Linked DNA regions of Homo sapiens: regions 2, 3 and 4 are each linked to region 1. Evidence: promoter capture Hi-C in human tissues and cell types (Jung and others, 2019). All regions are on one chromosome and are shown on one strand. Each heading gives the region's core, a stretch centred on a gene start or on the middle of the fragment in contact. The rest is flanking DNA. Distances are from core to core; before and after follow the strand shown.

Evidence for each region. Contacts are between HindIII fragments. The study calls those that stand out against the background at their distance.
Region 2: a contact is called between a fragment that was not itself captured here and the fragment with the promoter of MTHFD1L in region 1, in 1 of the 25 tissues and cell types used here (dorsolateral prefrontal cortex).
Region 3: a contact is called between a fragment that was not itself captured here and the fragment with the promoter of MTHFD1L in region 1, in 1 of the 25 tissues and cell types used here (mesenchymal stem cells).
Region 4: a fragment that was not itself captured here is called in contact with the fragment with the promoter of MTHFD1L in region 1 in 1 of the 25 tissues and cell types used here (lymphoblastoid cells).

Annotation. Positions count from the first base shown.
Region 1 is chr6:150,864,053-150,867,299 of GRCh38, reverse strand. It overlaps MTHFD1L (methylenetetrahydrofolate dehydrogenase (NADP+ dependent) 1 like), which reads right to left and starts at 1,598. Exons shown (of 28, transcript NM_015440.5): 1 at 1,251-1,598. The coding sequence starts at 1,477. RefSeq lists silencers at 427-576, 697-896, 1,057-1,466, 1,527-1,756. The HindIII fragment of the contact is 14,014 bases long and covers 1-3,247 here.
Region 2 is chr6:150,406,330-150,409,576 of GRCh38, reverse strand. No RefSeq gene overlaps it. Among named protein-coding and RNA genes, the nearest start is that of IYD, 39 kb to the right of the region's middle. The HindIII fragment of the contact is 4,244 bases long and covers 1-3,247 here.
Region 3 is chr6:151,243,187-151,246,433 of GRCh38, reverse strand. The region is part of intron 2 of AKAP12 (A-kinase anchoring protein 12); the gene reads right to left. Among named protein-coding and RNA genes, the nearest start is that of AKAP12, 4.8 kb to the right of the region's middle. The HindIII fragment of the contact is 4,236 bases long and covers 1-3,247 here.
Region 4 is chr6:150,602,688-150,605,934 of GRCh38, reverse strand. The region is part of intron 1 of PLEKHG1 (pleckstrin homology and RhoGEF domain containing G1); the gene reads right to left. Among named protein-coding and RNA genes, the nearest start is that of PLEKHG1, 4.4 kb to the right of the region's middle. The HindIII fragment of the contact is 3,558 bases long and covers 1-3,247 here.

The sequences.
Region 1 (3,247 bases), core at 349-2,848:
GAATCGCTTGAGCCCAGGAGGCGGAGGCTGCATTGAGCCGAGATGGCACCACTGAACTCCAGCCTGAGCAACAAAGCGAGACTCCATTTCTAAAAGAAAAAGAAGACAGAGAACAAGAAAAACTAAATAAATGGCCCCTTAAAATCATCCGCCACATAATAAAGAGCCTAGGAAACGTATTTTACTGAGATGGGAGAAGGGGAGTGGGGAGGAAAATGGGAGAGCAGAGGGAGGAAGGAAAGGCAGAGAGAAAGGCAAGCAGGCAATGACTAAGAAAGAAGGCTAGAAGGAAAGGGAAGAGGATGTGAATGGAGGAGGTGGTCCGCTGGCCGGGGAAACCGCATCCTGGAACTCGTTCCTAATCCCAGTTCCGAGGGAGGCGGAAGGGGCTTTCTTGCCACCCCCAAGTTGTCCCGAAGGGCTCGCCCTGCAAGGCCCGAGACCCGTGCGCCCCTCTGGGCGAGGGCGGGGAAGGCTGGAGCCCAGGGGCGGGGACCGGGACGGGAAAGGCCGGGCCCGGGGCTCCCAGTTCGCTCTGGGCCCGCAGAAAACCCTGCAAACCCAGCTGCGCGGGGACTCCGTGGGCGCTGCGCGGCGAAGCTGGAAACCAGCGCTGAGACCTCTCGGATTCCCCCCGGCGGCTGTCCCGGGGGCCCGGCTCCACCTTTGCCGTTCCGGGAAAAGCGGACGTCAGCCACAGACCCCAGCCCAGCAGGAGGGGCCGCGCGCGGGGAAGGGCGCACAACACCAGGGAGCTTCGCGCGGGCGGCGCTGGGCCCGAGCCCGCCTCTCCCGAGCTCCGCTTGCCCTTCCCGAACCCCGGGCCAGCCGGCGCGCCGAGCCGCAGCCCCGCCCTCCTCCTGCTCCTCGCCCCCTCCCCTGGTTTCCGCCCCAGCCGCACCGCCCCTTTACCGTCTGGGTCGCGCCCGGCGCGATTGCATCAGAGCCGGCGGCCGGCTGCGCACGTGGAGCCGGGCGTGCGGTCCATGCCGCTAGGCGCCCATTGGAGATGCCCACGCCCACCTGCGCTGCGGGCCCGGTCGGGTACTGGATCCCCCGTTCTCCGCCAGCGCTCCCGGCCGCAGTGCCCAAGCCCGCGTTTCCCGACACACCGCCCGGCCCCCCTAATGAGTTGGCACCAAACACTCGCAGCCCCGCGCCCCGCTCCCCACGGCGGTCCCGGGCGCTCCGCCCCTGGGTCGGGGCCACAGCCGCTGGAGACCTGGGCCAGGGCCAGACCCGACACTCACCTGACGATGGAGTCCCGCGCCGCGGGCGTTCGGCCGCCGGGGCTGCAGCTGCTCCGGGCCTGGCCATCCTGCGGCCGCCGCTGTCCAAGCAGGCCCTCCCGGCCACCGCCGCCGCCTCCGCCGCCGCCGCTGCTAGCGCGACAGGGCACACGGAGGCGGCGCGGAGGGCCCGGGGGCTGGGGCGGGCGGCGGAGCTGGCGCAGGACGAGCGGCAGACGCGTGCCCATGGCGCGGGACGGCTGGTTCTCAGGGGACACGGAGCTGCGGCTGCCGAGGGCGGCGGGGCGCGTGCCAGGGGAGCAGGCGGCGGCGGCGGCGGCGGCGGCGGGAAGGACCTGGCGCTTCCTCCTCGTCCCAGGGGCCCCTAGGGGGCACTGCACCCGGCGGCCGTGACGTGCGGAGGGCGGGGGCCTGCGAGCCGCCGGCCGGGATGTCACGGCTTTGGGCACTTTGGTTTGGTAAGCTGTACCAGACAGAGGGTGGGGTGCGGAGTGGGACTCAGACTCTGCCCTGAGACTCAGCCTCCCTCCCTTCAGCCTGAAAGGCCGAGGTGACCCTTGGTACTCAGGGCGCCAAGTTTAGACGGGAGGGCTTGGATTTGCTGTACTGGAGGTGGCCTGAGGATAAGAGGCTTTGTAACCTTAGGCAGGGGCACTTAATCTCGGTGAGCTTGCGGGGTCTTCGTCAGTACCACAGAGATAACAATGCTCTTCTTAAAACCTTAAAAGGATTTTATAGTCCTGATTGGTTCCAGGGCCCCTCCAGGGGACCCACGTCCACAAATGCTCAAGTCCTTGGTAAAAAAAAAAAAAAAAAAAAGTGTTTGCATATCACCTACACACATCTTCCCATCATAAACTTTAGGTCATCTCCACATTCCCTAAGTCCTCACCTAACATCGTGGAGGGGTTCTTGGAAACTGAAACTTTAAGCCAAATGACTGTAAGGAAAACAGTTTGACCACAGGCTAATTGATATGAGTGAAGTTCCTACAACATATCTGTGGTCACAAAATCGCCCCTAAACTTCGAAATAAAGACCAAAACACTTCTAATATTAAACATTGAAATAAGTGTGAGCCATGCATATATTTAAGGAAGATTTTTAGCTCACGCCTATAATCCCAACACTTTGGGAGGCTGAGGTGGGCAGATCACGTGAGGCCAGAAGTTCAAGACCAGCTTGGCCAACATGGCGAAACCCCATCTCTACTAAAAATACAGAAAATTGGCTGGGTGTGGTGGCGCGTGCCTGTATTCTCAGCTACTCGGGAGGCTGAGGCAGGAGAATCGCTTGAACCCAGGAGCCAGAGGTTGCAGTGAGCCGAGATCATGTCACTGTACTCTAGCCTGGGCGACAGAGCACAGCTCTGTCTCAAAGAAAAAGTTTTTTTTAAACACCCCCTATCCCTCTCGCTTAGAGAAAAATAAAGATTAATAAAAGTGAGATCATTTTTACCGGCTTATTCCAACTCAGGGCACCTCACAGGGTGTGCTCACACACACCCACACTCACACTCGGATCGTGTAGATGCACCAATTTACCTAAAGTGCACTGCACGGCTTTGGGATGTGACAGGACACCAGAAGACAGAGAAAATCCACACAGACATGGATAAAACGTGACAGTGGACCCAGCCAGAAATCTATTTTTTTCTCATCATTATAAGAAAACCACTGAGCAAAATGATGAAATGATGTTATTCCAGGACCTGCTGTACTTATAATACCTAATACAATGTAAATGCTATGTAAATAGATATTACACTGTACTTTTTTATTTCTATGATTTTTTATTATTTTTTGTTATTGTAATTTTTTCAAATACTTTCAGTCCCAGGTTGATTGAGGATACAGAGGGCTGACCATAAGTTCCAAGTAAAGTGGATATCAGATTGTAATTTTATGATTCCCAAGTGAGGGTCAGATTGTTAACTTTATATTTTTACAACCTTATACCCTTATAATTCCCAGATAAGGTGGGAATAAAACTAGTCC
Region 2 (3,247 bases), core at 248-2,747, 460 kb after region 1:
AGGGACTATTGTGATCACTTTCCCCTGTCTACTTGTAGATGTAGATCTTCGATGGAGGTGTTGAAACACTTGCCCAAGATCACCATTTAGGAGTAGGGCCAAGTTGTCTGGCTCCAGGGCCCATGCTCCTACCCACTAGTCACTGTGTGCCAGTGTCCCACCGCACCTCCAGTGAGATGGGTTCATTCGTCTGCAGTTCACATGGGTGCTTTGAAATCCGGGAGGAAAAGACATCATTCCTCGTTGCAGTCAGGGCTGCAAGGGCACTCTCTTTTTTACTTCTTTATTGTAAATGTGCTACTCTCTTTTCTAGAGATACTGGTGAGCTCTAGAAAAATGTTCCCTTCTCTTAAAAAAAAGTTTTTCTTAAAACAAAGACAGAGAAAGAAAGAAGGGAAAAAAGGAAAGGAGGGAACGGGGTTAATTCAGTCAATGGGAAGCACTGGTGGGAGGAAGAGAAAACTTAAGGTATGCCTCCTCCGCCTCTGCCTCGGGCGGCGTTGTTGGCTGTGGCTGCATTGCCCTGGCACCAGCCCTTCTTGGCAAGCTGTCTATGGTTCCACCTTCCTCCAGGTGCTCCCAGACCTTGGGCTCTAGTGAGGCCCCTCCAGCCCCGTCCCTCTAGTGCTGGGTAGGAGGGGTCAGGGCTAATCACTCTTGCCTCACTCTCCCCACAGTGCAATCAATTCCTTGTTTTAAATTCCCCTTCTGAAAATAATTAGCATGGTATCTCTCTACCTGGCCAGATCTTGTCTGAGCGGCCCTGTAATCTCTTAGAGTGCAGCAGCGTGGGGTGCATTTATTCCTTCCAAGAGCAGAAGATGGGCTTAGAAATAGCCTTTCAATTCGTTTTCCAGTCCAGAATTTCACAAAAGCATAATGTTTAGTCAGCTCAATGCTACCAGTCCGTGACCAAAACTATGTTACGAACACAGGGCGCCAAAGAGTAAAGAGGTCACACTAAGCGTAACCTCTTCCTGCTGCCCCAAACTCCTCACATCCCCCCCACCCCACAACACTCCCTGTAATTACGTGGGTTGTGTTGTAACTGGTTCATCCAGCTACTAAATCAGAGAGATTCAGGCACTCTTTTTTCCCAAGAGTTCTCCAGCAAAAATGCAGAAAAGCTTTTGAAGGCTTGTAACCATCCAGTGGTGTCATTCAAATTGCAAGGATTCTCTGCAATGACAACCTTACCAGCTGATACCTACCATGGCCCCCAGGAGCCCCAGGACACAGAGTTGAGGTAGACTGGTCTCTGCTCTCTGAGAGCTGAGAGTCTAGCAGAAGGCTTGGTCCAAGGAGAAGGGCAGCCAGCGTCATAGGCAGGGAGCCCAAGATGCTCAGAGGAAAGAGATGAGCTCAGCCTTCCTCTTTCCCTGCTGAAGTCTGATGGGAGAATCCAGGGAAGCTTTGACAAAGTGACATAACGCTTGGCCTTCAAGGATGGGGACGTAAATCTGGGAGAAAGACATGGAAGGGGATTCTTGATCTGAGCAAGAAGGGCAAGCCGGGGGCCCAACGGGCATACAGAAGGTTCAAGTTGATTCAATGGAACCCCCTGGTGGGAAGCAGACACTCTGAGTGATGGTCAGTTTCCCTGAAGCTAGGTTCATGGGCTTGTTCTATTTTATACTCCTTCTGCACACATGCTCCTTATAGCTTCTCCTCTCTGCCTCTCTCTCCAGGTACCCCAGTTGGCTGAGCTGATCCTTAGGAGACGAGGAGGCACAATCACAGCTCACGTCCTCAGCTTCTCTCTGCCTCCTGCCCGCCCATTCTCTCCCTCTTCACCTTTATCCAGTTGTCCTTCTTCAAACCCACTTTGGGGGTTTTCTTTTCCATCCTCTGGTGGCCCTGATGTTTGCTTGCTAGTTAAGTGATTTATACATTCCAGGCTGGATCCAAGACAGTGTGGAATGAAAACCAAATGCAAATTGGCTAGAAGGAAGGGCCAGAATAAACACAAACTGAAGACCCCAAACCAACGGTGTCCAAGCTTGTGCATGTATCTGCGCTGTCCCCATGGGGCCTTCCAACTCTGCTCAAAGCAATCTCCAGGGCTGTTCTCCAAGGACAATGGGTGAGTTAGAGAGAAGATCTCTTTGTGCTTCCTTCTTTGCTTTTTAAATTTAAGGTGGACATGATCTCAGGGCTTTGTACAGAAAACCTCTGAGGGTCAGTTGAGTGACCCACTTACCCTGCCATTCCCCACCCTGCTGGGGTCCTCCTGCTACTTCAACTCCATCACCACAGAGACTCAATTCCTGCGCTCTGAGGTTCAAATCTGCATCTGCTGAAGAATCTTCCAGAACTGCAACTCCCATCTGCACTGGGAGCATGTCTGGCCCACACCAGCTCAAGCACTGTGTGAAGGGTCCCAGTTATTCAGTGTGAAATTGTGTAAGACTTTCTCCTGGAGACAGGACCTTTGCAATCACAGCTTGGGGAATTGTCTTTACAATAACCACTTCCTCTTAGGGAGTCAGCAGCCTGGGCTCAAATCCTGCTTGGTCACTAAGATAGTTTTGTGACTCTAGACAAGTCACAGCACCCCTCTTAGCCTACATTTCTTCATCCATTCAACAAATATTCACATAGCAGCTACCGGCACCAGGAATAGAGAGGGGAGCATGATTGATAAATCATCTTAGAATTTATGATTGCATTATGGGAGTTACTCAGTAAATGAGTTTTTAAAAATCAGGGGGAGGGGGAAAACCTTTGAAGAACAATTTGGCAAGATCTAGAAAAGCTGAAATTTGACTTCTCTTTGACCCAGTAAGTCTACTCTTAGGTATATACCCTAGAGAAATTCTTAAACATTCCCACAGGACAAAGAATGAATGTAAAAGAATTTAAATGACAACTCATAAGAAAATGAAAAATGTGCGATATGTTCGTACAATGGTATAGAGCAGTAAAAATGAATGACCTAGAGCTGCACATTTCAACATGGACTATCTCATAAGCATAACTGAAGAATGTTGCAGAAAAATATGTAAAGTTTAATGCCATCTGTGTAGAGTTAAAATGGACAAATATTAGATACTATTTAGTGGCAAGAGTATTTTTTACATGCATGGGCATTAATAAGACCAAATTAGATTAGTGCTTTCTTCTGTGGAGGGAGGAAAGAGGATGGAACTGGGGAGTAATACATAGGCGGTATTAACTGTATTGATAATGTTTTGTATCTTAACCTACATTGTGGTTACATAGTTTTCATTATAATATTCTTAGGATT
Region 3 (3,247 bases), core at 292-2,791, 380 kb before region 1:
TTTTGTTTTTGTTTTTGAGACGGAGTCTTGCACTGTCACCCAGGCTGGAATGCAGTGGTGAGATCTCAGCTCACTGCAACCTCCCCCTCCCAGGTTCAAGAGATTCTCCTGCCTCAGCTTCCCAAGTAGCTGGGATTACAGGCACCTGCCACCACACCCAGCTAATTTTTTGTGTTTTTAGTAGAGACGAGGTTTCGCCATGTTGGCCAGGCTGGTCTCGAACTCCTGACCTTGTGATTCACCTGCCTCGGCCTCCCAAAGTGCTGGGATTACAGGCGTGAGCCACCGCACCTTGCCGGGTTAAATTTTTAAATGCATATAAAGCTTGCAATTCAGCAATTACACTTATGGACGAGGACAATCTAAATATAAACCCAAGGAATTGGTTAAATCGTTACAGGGCTTCAACCCACAAAAGGGAAATTTATGCACCCAAATTAATAAGAATGGGGGCAGTTATTTATGTCCTGATATGAAAAGACATCCAAAACCTAAATCTATATGTGATATGATCTTTTTCTTAAATGGAAAAGACTGTGCCATTTTTATCTACTTTCATGTGCATGAAGTTTTCGAAAGAATATGTAAGAAGCCATCATATTGGCTTCAAATTTTACTTAAATTTGTGAGTAATTTACCCTACTTATAAATTTAAGTTCTCAATCATTAATTTTTTTAAAAAATAAACATTAAATGAATATTGCTATGCAATGACTTTAAATAAAAATCATTAATAAGGGTAAACACATGCTTTTGATTTTTTTTTTTTTTTTTTTTGAGACGGAGTCTCTCTCTGTCGCCCAGGCTGGACTGCAGTGGTGACTGCAGTGGTGCCATCTCGGCTCCCTGCAAGCTCCACCTCCCGGGTTCACGCCATTCTCCTGCCTTAGCCGGGTGGATCACGAGGTCAGGAGTTTGAGACCAGCCTGGCCAACATGGTGAAACCCCATCTCTACTAAAAATACAGAAACTTAGCTGGGCGTGGTGGTGGGTGCCTGTAATCCCAGCGACTCGGAAAGCTGAGGCAGGAGAATCGCTTGAACCTGGGAGGCAAAGGTTGCAGTGAGCCAAAAAAAAGAATTCGGTTCAAGGAAATTTAGTTGCTTTTTTTTTTTTCAAGAGATAAACGTACTGGCTTAATTTTTCTTAGAATGCTTAGTGCTATAAATTCTAATTTCTAACTTCGCATGAATGGCTACTGCATATAGAATTATAGAGATGGGGGATGATGCCATTTAGTTTGAGTTTTCCTGCACTGGTGTTCTTTAAGCACTGAATATGTATTAAAACTAACTAAGACAAAGGAAAATAAATAATTTATTAGCATTTTTAAAAACAAAACATTTTATTTCCATTTTGTTAATTATCTTACAAGATCCAAACTAGAATAATCTTATAATGTCAGCTTAAAGCTGTAAAGGCATAGAAATTAGTCAACCCAAAGAGGATGCACATTTCAAGGCCTTTTCTTCATAGAAGGAAATATTTCAAGAGAAAATCTCCACTTATCTTATTCATCCACTAGCCTATAAGCTGTAATGGATTTAAAGGAAGCCCTGCGATTCCTGCAGTCTATCGGTACCCAAAAGAATCATCCCCACATCCATATCTCCAATTTTTGGTCTCTGTTCTGATCAGAAATTAGCAGCTCTTATAATCTGGTAAAAATCCACAGGAATACAAGTAGCCACACACAGAGAAACATCCCTCTATTAAGAAACATATAATTCTTGCCTTAAATTCTGGCCCATTTTTGTAACACTGGTGATGTAGTCACTTTGAGGCCATCTTCGTTCTCCATTTCCATTGCTAAACAAGTGGCAAATAGGAGGAAGCTTATGGGAGGAATTATGAAATGCAGCTGGCCGCCTCAATTGTCTGGTTTTGTTTGTTTGTTTGTTTGTTTCTTTGAGACAGAGTCTCGCTCTGTTGCCCAGATTGGAGTGCAGTGGCGCCAACTCGGCTCATTGCAAACTCCGCTTCCCGAGTTCACGCCATTCTCCTGTCCCAGCCTCCCGAGTGGCTGGGACTACAGGCGCCCGCCACCACGCCTGGCTAATTTTTTGTATTTTTAGTAGAGATGGGGTTTCACCGTGTTAGCCAGGATGGTCTGGATCTCCTGACTTTGTGATCTGCCTGCCTCAGCCTCCCAAAGTGCTGGGATTACAGGCGTGAGCCACCGCACCCGGCCAATTGTCTGTTTTAATGCACGAGGGTCAAACACATCCTTAAATTTACCAGTCAGACAACGGACTCTTCTATTCGAGTACATCTTTATGTTTTGGTGATTCAAGGCTCTTGTAATCAAATGGAGCTAACAAGAGCCCCCATCTCCCCACCTGCCAGAGACAATGGCCTCACCCTGTTGCAACAGACCATTGTTCAATGTCCAGCATTGAAATCATTCATCAGGCAATACATATAGAAAGGCTAATTAATTGATTGTCCAGACTTAGTCTGGAGCCTGGCTCCAGAAATCAAGATTAGCCAGAGACATGGAAGTCAGTTTGTCACTGGTCACCCCACCCTCTGTTGCCACCTGAATATGTTGCCACCTTAATATTTTTTTAAGACAAATTTTTAAAAACAGACAATTAAGGAATAATGTGAAGTGTGAGGCTTTACTTACCACCAGCATTCAGGTCATCTAATCTTCCCGCACCCTGCAGTTGTGAAACGGCCATGTCTCAAAATTAAACCCTGGCAGATAACAGACCAAGCCATTCCCCCTGCCCCCGCCTGGATCTTACATATAAAGACTGTAAAAGATTTCCAGTCTATCTCTGGATCTAACGGAAAAAATAAAGATTACAAAAGATTGAATAGAAGATAAAGACTCCTTCCATTTTACAGAAATGAACCATAGATAAAACCAAGACTTCTGCTTTAGTGCATCTAAACGTTAAGCCTGAGTAATCAAAAGCTTGTTTAACTCTCCATTTGACCTAATACAAGTGATAATTCAACCAGTGTAATGTCTGTTCAGATAAGGGCACTTAGTGAATAACTGGTAACTAAAACTAGCAGAAAAAAAGGAAAGTAAATCCAATTGCTAAATAGATAGCATGCATGTGATATAAATGTCAGCTATTAGATAGAAAAAGATCTGCCTACAACCTTTAATTAATGACCACATTCTATCCAAGGAGGGAAAAATGATGTATTAGCCTAAACCTCCCCAACCGTCCACAGACACATCAAGGAAGTTCAAGATGTAATCCTAAGTAACTCAGGGTATGAAATGGAC
Region 4 (3,247 bases), core at 520-3,019, 260 kb after region 1:
TGGGTATTTATTGAGCACAAATACAATGAACACACTTCACTGATGCTAGAACACACTTTTCACAACTTATGGATGCAACTTACAGTAGATGGTGCCAATTTTATTGACAGTAGTTTTTCTTTCTTTGTGGTACATTTTAAAGTGGAACATTTTAAAACTGTATATTTCATTAAAAATTGAAATATTTCAAAGATATCTTAGATCTGATAAAACAGGAACTCATCAATATCATTAAGGTCTCAGTTTAAATGTTGCCACCTCCTCCTCCTAGAGGCTTCCTGGACCACCAATCAAAGGGAGCCCATCCATCACTCTGAGTCTCCACCACCTTACCGATCACATCTCCATGGAAACTGTCTCTCTTGTATTGGTCAGGAATTATCCTAGGCATAGTAGGTTCTCAATAAACGCTCTGGAATGAATAAAAGTTACCATTTATCGAGCAATTACTACATGTCAGACTCTGAACTAAATGCTTTACAGAGGGAAATCCCATTTATTCCTAATAATTGAAAGGTCATTCTTACTCCCTACTTTACAGATGGGGAACTTGCAGCAGGTAAGTGGGAAAACAAAGAACTAGAGCTCAGCTCAGCCTGACTTCAAAGCCCATACACGTATGTACTCTGCTACACTGTGTATCGCATCCAAGGCCCTGGAATTGTTTTGTGCTTGATTCTCTGGCTGGTTTAGAGATGTAAGGCAAGATGAAGTTATTATACAAAGAAGAATACAACTGTTCCCCCACTTTTGAAAGGTAATATTTGCCAATGGGGAATCACCACATTTCTCTAGACCTCTAAATGCTTCATTTATAAACTCCTGTGCAAACATAGAGATGGAGGTGACGGCATCTCTGTCCAATAAATGAGGAAGGGCTGCAGGGAAGAGACAGATATTTCAACTTTGTGTGGAACGACCCCACCACTGGTGAGAGAGAGTGCGGCCCACCCAGGGCTCTGCAAGTTACTTGAATGGCAAGGACACAGGGTATACATGAAGAGGTATCAGGAGAAGAGTAGATACAAGGGCTGTGGGTGCCTTGCTCAGAGGTTTGGGCCTCATTTCATAGGAGTTATCTGTGGTCTGTGTCAACCATGGACTTTATCCCAATCCAGTCCAACTTCTCTCCCCCATTCAGCATCTAACTCAAAGTAGAATGTTGACGTCTGGCACTGCCATTTCTATGTCAACTGATGGCTATGCTTAACAGAGACTTCTAGCCCCAGGGCAAAGATAAAATATAAAAAGGTGACTAGGAAACCGAGTGACGAAATGATCTTGATTATAAGTCCGTCTATGATGAGTCAACATAGATAGAGCCAATGAAACTTGTCATCTTGGGTCTCAACGAAAATACGGAAGGACACTACAAAACAGAATAGTTCATTTAAAACAGAGCCAGCAAACTATAGCTGCAGGCTACATCCAGCCTGTTTTTGTATGGCCTGTGAGCAAAGATTGGTTTTTACATTTTTAAAGGGTTGTAAACAAATAACCCTCATCTCAAATCAAACAGTATATGACAGAGACATGTGGAGCCTAAAATGCTACCTGGATTTTTACAGGAAAAGACTTGCCATCCCCTCACCTAGGACTTTACGTGTCTTTTCAATGTCTAGACAGTCACAGGCCATTTAAATTGGTGCTCAATGTGACTAGACCCAGAGAACTAGATCTATTCACCACTTCAAATATTAGAGCTCATTTAATACTATGATGATTTATGGATTAATAATTCCTCTTATGAGAATACTAAAGTTTTAGCTGTTATTAGACTCATGCTTATCTTAAATTTTTCTTTGATGATTTAAAAACATTTCCTTCTTATACATAAATGGGCTTGCTAGCTTTTGGCCAAATGCTATAATGGCAAAGGGTTTGCCCTTCCTAGTGCTGGTGCTAAGAGGCCTCCATAACACCCTGGTATTTAAAGCTTACCAAAACAACTTTCTTAATTAAAGACCGAGTGAAAGCCCTGACTCTCCTCCCATCAGGTTATTACAAGTGGGTGTAGATGGAATTTTTAAAAAACTTAGCCTACCATTAACACTCTTCAAATTGCCTTCCCTCTAGGACCACGAAGGGAGGGGAAAAGAAGAGGAGAGTTATGGATTTGCGGATCCACGAATCCAGCAGGATTTAGCTTTCCATCAAACGGTAATTCAATATTTACCAAAGGATGTTTAGATGTGGAAATTTTTACTTTGGCTTGTATCTCATCAGAAAAAGTGTTTTTGGTTTTGTTTTTTGTTTTTTTTAACCTTAGGTTTACATATTGAAAAGATACTCAGCCTCAAACATGAAGACTATTCTAGATACACAGTCAACTCCTAATCACTGGACTGGAAATCACCCAGGCATACCTGAAGCTGTTTTGCAGCATTAGATACGCTATGGCCCAGGTATTCCACAGCAAACCTGGGCCCCATCGCTAGGTGATTAGCCATATACTTCTGTCTTCTCAGCTAAAGCATTTATTGCTTTTCATCAGCATAGACAATATAAAGCTGAAGATGTAGTCATCTCTTAATCACTTGAAAGCTGACTCTTCTGTCAGTAAATTCTACTTGGCACAGACTGCCCGTGACTCTGAATGACCGAATGGATTGGGATCAGCTTTTAATTTTATCAAGCAAGATTGATGCAAGCCTGTGATGAAACATTAATATCTGAGATGCCTTGCCACACACAAGCATGAGGTTGCTTACAGACCCTTTGTCTAAAAAATGTTTTCCTTCCCATCCCTGCCTGAATACACCAACATTTCGCATTAGAAACCATATTTTTCCTAAGTCAAAAGAGACAAGGGATTATAATTTTTTCTTTTCTTTTTTTTTATTTTTTTTTTTTTTGAGACGGAGTCTCGCTGTCGCCCAGGTTGGAGTGCAGTGGCGCGATCTCGGCTCACTGCAGGCTCCGCCCCCCGGGGTTCACGCCATTCTCCTGCCTCAGCCTTTTGAGTAGCTGGGACTACAGGTGCCCGCCACCTCGCCCGGCTAATTTTTTGTATTTTTAGTAGAGACGGGGTTTCACCGTGTTAGCCAGGATGGTCTCGATCTATAATTTTTTCTTAAAGACTGAACCATTACATTTAATTAAAAATATGTCTCCATGCAACCAACATTTCTTAGGCAGTGCAGTTCAAGAGGGGCAGGGGAGAGAGAAGAGAACCTTGGTTAAATCACAGTTCTGACAGTCCAGAGCTATGTATAAACTTCTGCAAAATCATACACTCCTGGGACTT